Regions from separate parts of the Homo sapiens genome. Here region 1 is linked to region 2. Evidence: promoter capture Hi-C in 16 types of primary human blood cells and fetal thymus (Javierre and others, 2016). All regions are on one chromosome and are shown on one strand. Each heading gives the region's core, a stretch centred on a gene start or on the middle of the fragment in contact. The rest is flanking DNA. Distances are from core to core; before and after follow the strand shown.

The links. Contacts are between HindIII fragments. The CHiCAGO score rates a contact against its expected background, and 5 or more counts as called.
Region 1: a contact is called between a fragment that was not itself captured here and the fragment with the promoter of SOX18 in region 2, in 2 of 17 cell types (monocytes and naive B cells). The highest score is 5.7, in monocytes.

What each region holds. Positions count from the first base shown.
Region 1 is chr20:63,504,090-63,507,959 of GRCh38, forward strand. LOC105372725 (a long non-coding RNA gene) reads left to right here. Exons shown (of 3, transcript XR_937004.3): 2 at 815-907; 3 at 1,266-1,643. Among named protein-coding and RNA genes, the nearest start is that of EEF1A2, 6.9 kb to the left of the region's middle. The HindIII fragment of the contact is 815 bases long and covers 1,523-2,337 here.
Region 2 is chr20:64,047,690-64,051,405 of GRCh38, forward strand. It overlaps SOX18 (SRY-box transcription factor 18), which reads right to left and starts at 1,950. Exons shown (of 2, transcript NM_018419.3): 1 at 1,470-1,950; 2 at 1-1,273. The coding sequence starts at 1,827. The coding sequence ends at 477. RefSeq lists a silencer at 1,640-1,689, an enhancer at 1,821-2,502 and promoters at 1,827-2,935, 1,830-2,727, 1,830-2,090. The HindIII fragment of the contact is 12,409 bases long and covers 1-3,716 here.

The DNA of each region.
Region 1 (3,870 bases), core at 680-3,179, 540 kb before region 2:
ACCGTGTCTGTGAGATGCCTCCATGCCGTCCCGTGCAGCAGGCATTTGTTCATTTTCATCACTGTACTGCATTCCACTTCCAGTTCTGAACGACTACAAATAAAGCTGCTACGAACACTTGTGTGCGTCTCTCTTGTGCGGGTGTACCTGCTCAGTACACACCCCAGGATGTTTCAGCCACATGATAGGTGCATTATGCCAACCACTAGTTTATTGTCTTTTGGCTCGAAATTTAACCTTCAATACCTGCTCCACAGCAGTGGACAGAATTACTTTAAGCATTTCTCCTTTACACTGGGCAGATTCATTTTTTTTCTTTTCTTTTTTTCTGAGACAGGGTCTCACTCTGTCCCCCAGGCTGTAGAGTAGTGGCACAATCATGGTTCACCACAGCTTCGGCCTCCCAGGCTCAAGCGATCCTCCCACCTCAGCCTCCCAAGTATTTGGGACTACAGGTACACACCACCACGCCCAGCTAATTTTTGTATTTTTTATAGAGATAGGGTCTTGCCATGTTGCCTAGGCTGGTCTCCAACTCATGGGCTCAAGTGATCCACCCGCCTTCGTCTCCCAAAGCCCTGGGATTACAGACGCGAACCACTGCACCCAGCTGAGATTCACTTTTTTGAGGAAGGCAATAAAGGGTGAATTTGCAGCTGGAAATAAATCAATTGATAATTGGCTTTTACCCCTTGAGCGTGGGTTGCATTGTCCTGTTTCTTCGTGTGTCTAGTGATTTTTGACTGAATACTGAACATCATGTGGAGAGTCTACTCTGCTTCCTCCTCTGAAGCTGTCGGTGTTTGCTTTGCAGGTTGGTTCACTGCTGGGCCCTGTGGACTTGTTCTCATGCTTTGTCAGTGTCGATGTCGAAAGCCCAAAGTGTTTCCCAAGTCCTGCTACCTTGGTAAGACTCAACCCTCAATCTCAGTCTCCCCTGCAGATCTCTGTGGGGCTTGGTCTGAACTTTCGTTAGGTGAGTGTGGAGTAGGCATTATTGTACATTGTAGTCCTTTCTCCTCAAAAAAAAAAAAAAAAAGTAAGGTCTCTCCACTCTAGCCAGGTCCAAATGCCAAATGCCAATGCCGCCCAAGTCTCTCCACTCTGGCCAGGTCCAAATGCCAAATGCCAAAATACTGCCCGACACAGCTTGTCCTCTACTATCTTTGTTCTGCTCTAACCTGGGTGGATACAACCTCAGGTAATCCCTGGTGAGTCGCAGCCTTGAGTACTTTCCTCCGAGAAACACTACGGTTTGTGTCCAGCCCATAGAACACAGAAAGGTGATAAGTCACTCTGTGATTGGCTGCATCATTCCAGGCTCTGTCCTGGGGGACGGAGCAGCAAGACACCCCTGCTGTCTGTGAAGATATGGCTGTTGGAAGGCATGGGAGGGGCCTCGTATCAGGGAACCAGTGAGTGGCCCCAGGCTGCCAGCCAACAAGAAAGCAGGGACCTCAGTCCTACAGCCACAAGGAACTGAATTCTGCCAACAACCACGTGGCCTTCAAAGAGGACCTCAAGCTTCAGAAAGAAATACCAACACCTTGGTGGCACTCTTGAAACCCCGAGCCACCCAGCGGAATTGTGTGTGGGCTCCTGACCCCCCAAAACTGAGAATAAATGCATGTTTTTTAAAGCTACTAAATCGGTGTTGATTGGTTATGCAGTGACGGATAACAGCACAGGGCCTATAGTCACTGCTCTCTGGTGAGCCTCCGGCACCTCCTCACCCTCAGCCACAGGCTTGCAGAGGTCCCAAGCACTCCCCACCAGCAACATGCACACCTAAGCCCCTCACTCCAGTCTCTGCCTCTCATCCCAGGGGGACTGCCGTGCTCTGCCTGGAGCCCTGCTTGTGGGGTTATGGCCAAGGAGAGCCGGGAGTGTGGGCGCCTCCAAGCACCCTCTCGGTCTTGTGCTGTCCTCACCCCACTGCCTGAAGAGAGCAGCGCACGAATTTTGTCTGGTCTCAGAGTCGTTTCTGGAGGGAGACGTACCTGGCAGCAGCTACTCCCCCGCAACTGGAAGCAGCGGTTGACTCCACATCAATACAAAGACAAGGTTACTTCAGTCTTTTTACTTTTATATTTTATTGTTTTACTATTTTCACGGTATATACATTGGGCCTGTCTTTTTAAAAATCTTTTATGACACTGAAACTTTTGAAGAATGCAAACCGGTTGTTTTGTAGATTGTCCCCGCATTGAGCGTTCCTGACATTTCTGCATGAACAGATTGGCACCAAGAGCCAGGCATCCTTCCCAGCACTCGGGACGCTGGCTGCCCACCAGCGGCAACGGTACCTTTGATCCTCTGGTTAAACTGGCATCCACAAGCTTCTCACAGTAAAGTTACCACTTTGCCCTTTGTAACTGATAAGTAAGCCGGGCACGGTGGCTGACACCTGTAATCCCAGCACTTTGGGAGGCCAAGGCGGGTGGATCACTTGAGCCCAGGAGTTCAAGACCAGCCCGGCCAAAATGGTGAAACCCCATCCCTACTAAAAATTCAAAAATTAGCCAGGTATGGTGGCACATGCCGGTATTCCCAGCTACTCAGGAGGCTGAGTCACGAGAATCGCTGGATCCCGGGAGGCAGAGGTTGCAGTAGCCAAGATCATGCCACTGCACTCCAGCCTGGGTGACAGAGTGAGTGAGAATCTGTCTCAAAAAAAACCCTGAAAATTAACAAGGAAGTACTTTTGATACTGGTGGCCAGGGGAGGTCCCCAAATGCGAATGGGACCTTGACCCAGGCCAGTGTCCTGCCTCTTAACACCATCACAAAACGAATTCAAGGATGAGTTAAAAAATAATGAAAGTAGAGATTTATTGCAAAGCAAAAAGTACACCCTCCAGAAAGCAGAGTGTGGCTGGGTGTGAAGGCTCACGCCTGTAATCCTAACACATTGGGAGGCTGAGGCAGGAGTTCGAGATCAGCCTGGGCAACATAGTGAGACCCTGCCTCATAAAAATAAACAAGCAAATAGAAAAAAAAGTCAAAGAAGAAAGGGGAGTATGGGTGTTCTCAAGAAAGTGAGTCGTGAGGCAGGGTTTGGGGCCCCTACCTTTAATGGGTTTCTTTAACCAAGGAGTGGAATATTCATAAAGATTTCTGGAAAAAGGTGAAGATTTCTAGGAACTGTGGTGCCACCCTTTTTTACACCAAATATGTGTGTTCCTGGAACTGTCATGGCACTGCCGAGTGTGATTTGTGTGTTGATGAGCATATAATTAGGTCACCGGTGAAACCCAGGTCAAGTCCGCTGCCATGTGGGTCCAGTCGTCTCGGCCAGCGTGGCCCAGTGGGTCCAGTCATCTTGTCCAGCTCGGCCCAGTGGGTCCAGTAGTCTCGGCCCAGCTCGGCCCAGTGGGTCCAGTCGTCTCGGCCAGCGTGGCCCAGTGGGTCCAGTCATCTTGTCCAGCTCGGCCCAGTGGGTCCAGTCGTCTCGGCTCAGCTCGGCCCAGTGGGTCCAGTCGTCTCGGCCAGCGTGGCCCAGTGGGTCCAGTTGTCTCGGCTCAGCGTGGCCCAGTGGGTCCAGTCCTCTTGGCCCAGCTCGGCCCAGTGGGTCCAGTCGTCTCGGCCCAGCTCAGCCCAGTGGGTCCAGTCGTCTCGGCCCAGGTCGGCCCAGTGGGTCCAGTCGTCTCGGCCAGCTTGGCCCATGTCCTGGTCTTCAGTGTCTGGTCACCCCCTGGCCTCTGCAGCTTTTTCAACAGCTCTCTTTTGATAGCCATGAAACTGCTACCTGGAATCATCTGTTCTCCTGCGGCCACCCTGTCGTAGTCCTGTCTCACTTTGGGTTAGGTAAATGTCCTGTCCCTCATCAGAATCCATCTCTGGACTTAGCATTCGTGGATGATTCATGGAT
Region 2 (3,716 bases), core at 700-3,199:
CTTTGCCACAGTGACGCTTCTGATCACTGAAACTTCTTGGAAGAAAAGTTTAAGAGTTTAATTAAAAATTAAATATATTGTATTAGGTATATTTTTTAAAAGGGCAAAGTAAAAAATATTAATACAATCTGGTTGTAGAAAATACACTGCAAGAAAAGGAGCAGGTGCTTCAAAAATGTAACCCTGGCAACTCTGCCAACAGGTCCTGGGCTCGGGCTTCCTGGAAAAGCCCCGGGACACGTGGGAACTCCAGGCACCCTCGCAGGGGCCCCCCGAGGGCAGGTGGCCCAGAAGCCCAGGAAGGGTGGCCTGGGAGGTGGAACGGGCGCAAGGCCGAGCATCACTGGCTCCTAGGGGGCTGTGACATGGAACCAAACATACACGCGTATGAGAGAGCAGAGCGGCAGCGACGCGGTCGGATCGGTCGCGGGGGCTGCGGGAGGAAGCGCTGCAGGGACCCGGGCGGCGCCGGCGGCCTAGCCGGAGATGCACGCGCTGTAATAGACCGCGCTGCTGGCGTCCGACAGCGCGGAGATCAGGCTGCTCTCCTCTGGGCAGGACATGGCGCGCGGGCCCAGTTTGGCCAGTGCCACGTGGTACGGGAGCCCGGGGGCGTCGGGCCGAGTCCGGCTGCAGTTGAGGTACTGGTCGAACTCGGTGAGGTCCACGTCGGCCCACAGATCGGCGGCGGGCCCCAGCGGCTCGGCGCTCTCCAGCGGCGGGGCCTCGGGCGGCGGCGACAGCGGGCCGGGGTACGGGCCGGGCGTGCCCAGGGTGCCGTAGTACAGGCCAGCGAGCGGCGCCGCGGGGGGCGCGGTCCTGAGCGCCTCCGCCAGGGGAGCCCCGTAGCAACCGCCGGGGTCCCGCGACAACTCGGTGGGCGCGTAGGGCGCGCGGAAGGGCCGCAGCGCGCAGTCCTCGGGCGCCGCGGGCGGTGGGAAGAAGGCAGCCTCGCCGGGCTCCAGGCCGTCCAGAGGCGAGCGCTCGGGCGTGGGCAGCCCCAGGCCGTCGAACTCGGCGCCCAGCGGGGGCAGCTCGCGGAAGGCGCGAGCCGAGCCAGACGCCGCGGGGAAAGGCTCGGGCGGTGGCTGCGGGGGCGCTAATCCCGGGAGCAGGAGGCCGGGCTCCAGCCGCCGGGCCTTGCGCGCCTGCTTCTTGCGGCGCGGCCGGTACTTGTAGTTGGGGTGGTCGCGCAAGTGCTGCACGCGCAGCCGTTCGGCTTCCTCCACGAAGGGCCGCTTCTCCGCCGCGTTCAGCTCCTTCCACGCTTTGCCTGCGGGCCGTGGGCGCCAGTGAGTGGAACGCCGTCGGGCGGGTGGGCGCCGAGCCCTCCGTGCGCCCGGGACGCCCCGCGAGGGTTTGGCGCAGCCCCCGCACCCCGCGGCCCGGGACCCCTGCCCCCCCCGCCCCACCCCGGCCCGAGCCCCCCCCGCCCTCTCCCCCTTCTCTGCCGCCCTCCCGCCGCTCACCCAGCATCTTGCTGAGCACCGCGTTGTGCAGGTCCGGGTTCTGCTGAGCCAGCCGCTTGCGCTCGTCCTTTGCCCACACCATGAAGGCGTTCATGGGCCGCCGGATGCGCGACTCGTCTGCCGCCTGGCGTTCCCCGCGGCCGGCCGGGCTGAGGCCATAGCGCCCCGGCTCGGGGCTGCGCGGGGGACTGCGCTGCGGGCTGGGCGGCGAGGCGGGCGCGGCGGGCGCGGCGAGGGCGGCGGGGCCGGCGGCGAGGCCGCGCGTGTCAGCGGCGGCCCCGTGTCCCGGGGCCCATGCACAGTCGCGGCGGGCGGGCGGGTCGTCCTGTGCGCCGTAGCCGGGCGGCGATCTCTGCATTCCAGCTGGGCGCGGCCTGGGCGGAACGGAGCGCGGGAGCGCGGCGGGCGGGCGGCGGGCACTGGGGAGCCGGGCGCAAGGGCAGGCCAGGCCGGGAGGGCGGATGGCGGTGGGGACGGCGGTGGCCTCGGGCCGGGCGGGCGCCCAGATATAGCGGCTCAGGGCCAATCGGCGGCGGGGCGGGCGGGCGGGGGCGGGTCGGGGCCGCCTCCTCCCCGGGGGCTCCCTTTCTTCTCAGGCCGGGCGGGATTCCGCTGAGGCCTCCCCCGCGCACAGCCCCCCCACCTCCCCCGCGACCTCTCAGAAGGAGAGACCCCCCGGGTGGGAAAGAAAGGGCTGCTGATGAGGGCCGGTGCTGCCAGACTTTCGGAGGCGAGCTGCCACCCACCCACGGAGTCGGACCCCCGGGCAGTAACTGGGGGAGGGCGGCAGTGTCCCGCTGGTTGCCGTTCCCCGCCCCCCGCTGGGAGGCTCCATGGGGAGGAGAGGGCCCTTTTTCACACCAAGTTCTGGGGAGGCTGCCTTCCCAACAGCCGGTAAGTCCTTCCTGGAGTGCAGCGCCTTCAGAAAAGGCCCCGTCTTTGGGGAGGCGCTCTGAGTCCCCAGGGGCGCCCATGCTGGAAACTCTACACCCATGTGTAACCGTCAGCACCAGGGACTTTGAGTGCCTTTATGGGACAAGATGGTCTTCTGTCCTCACTCCCAAACCAACTCTGGCACAAGGCAAAGCTGACACAGGGAGGGAGAGAGCAGAGGCCCTGGACGGAGCCCACAAAGAGAAGGGGGAGCAGGGACGCAGAGGCTGTGGCGTCCTCCCTGCCCCCCAAGGGCCCTTGGGGAAGGGGCTGGGACCCTCAGTGGCTTGCTGGCTCCCCTGCCCAGCCCAGGCCACCGCTGCAGCAAGAGGCAGGGCCTACCTGGGTCCTTCCCACTGGCCCCTCCCTGGACCCTCTGACCTGGGCGGGGGCGGGTTCCGGAGGAGCGTCCAGCTTCCTGAATTTTCACTGTCCCCTTCCTACTCCATCAGGAGGGGATCTGGGCTCCAGAGCTGAGGGTCTCCCTCTGGAGGTCCTCCCCTCCCACTGCCACGCATGGTTCTACTGGAGAAGGGTTGGGTGTCCCCAGCAGCCCTCCAGGCAGGGTCAGAATCTCGCCACCTCGCGGCACATCTCCTCATAGCCTGGAGGCTCCCCAGCTCCCCCCGCCACACTATGCCGGGAGCCCCATGGGTAGAGGCCACAGGTCTTGTGACCCTGAGCCTGTGTGGCCAGAAGCTCTTGGTTCTCTGTCCCTGCCAGCCTCGCTAGGCCACATCCAGCCTGTGTTATGAATGGGGTGGGCCCCACGTGGGCCTTGCAGTGCCCCTTAGAGGCTGTTCCTGAACTGTCCCCAGGGGCACTCCTGCCCTGAGGCCAGCACCCCCACAGGGGCACTCCCACCGAGGGCTGTCGCGGTCGGTGTCCAGCCCTCCCCAAAGCCCCACATCACAGTCTGTCTCGACGCCCATCGTCCCAGCATACGGGGCTGGGTCTCCCAGTCTGGTCTCCAGATCTCCCGTCCCTCCAGTTTGCCCCACGGGCCTAGCACCTCGTTCACAGACACTGAGCCAGTGCTGGCTAATGGGGGGCCCGTGGGGCACCAGGAGGTGCGGCCCCTGGCTTTTCTGGGGAGGCAGGCAGGGTTGTGGCCACAGGGATGGAGGGGCTCACAGGCCTCTGCCGGATGCTGCTAGTCCTCCTTTAATCTCAGTATGGGTGGCTGGACCCTTGGCCGAGTCTCAGTGTGGGTGGGCCTCCTGGGCAGCTGGCAGGAGGGTGCAGGGGGGGTGGGGAGCCGTGCGAAGACCCCAAAGGGCTACCACTTGGCGGAAGCTCTCTCTACTCACAACC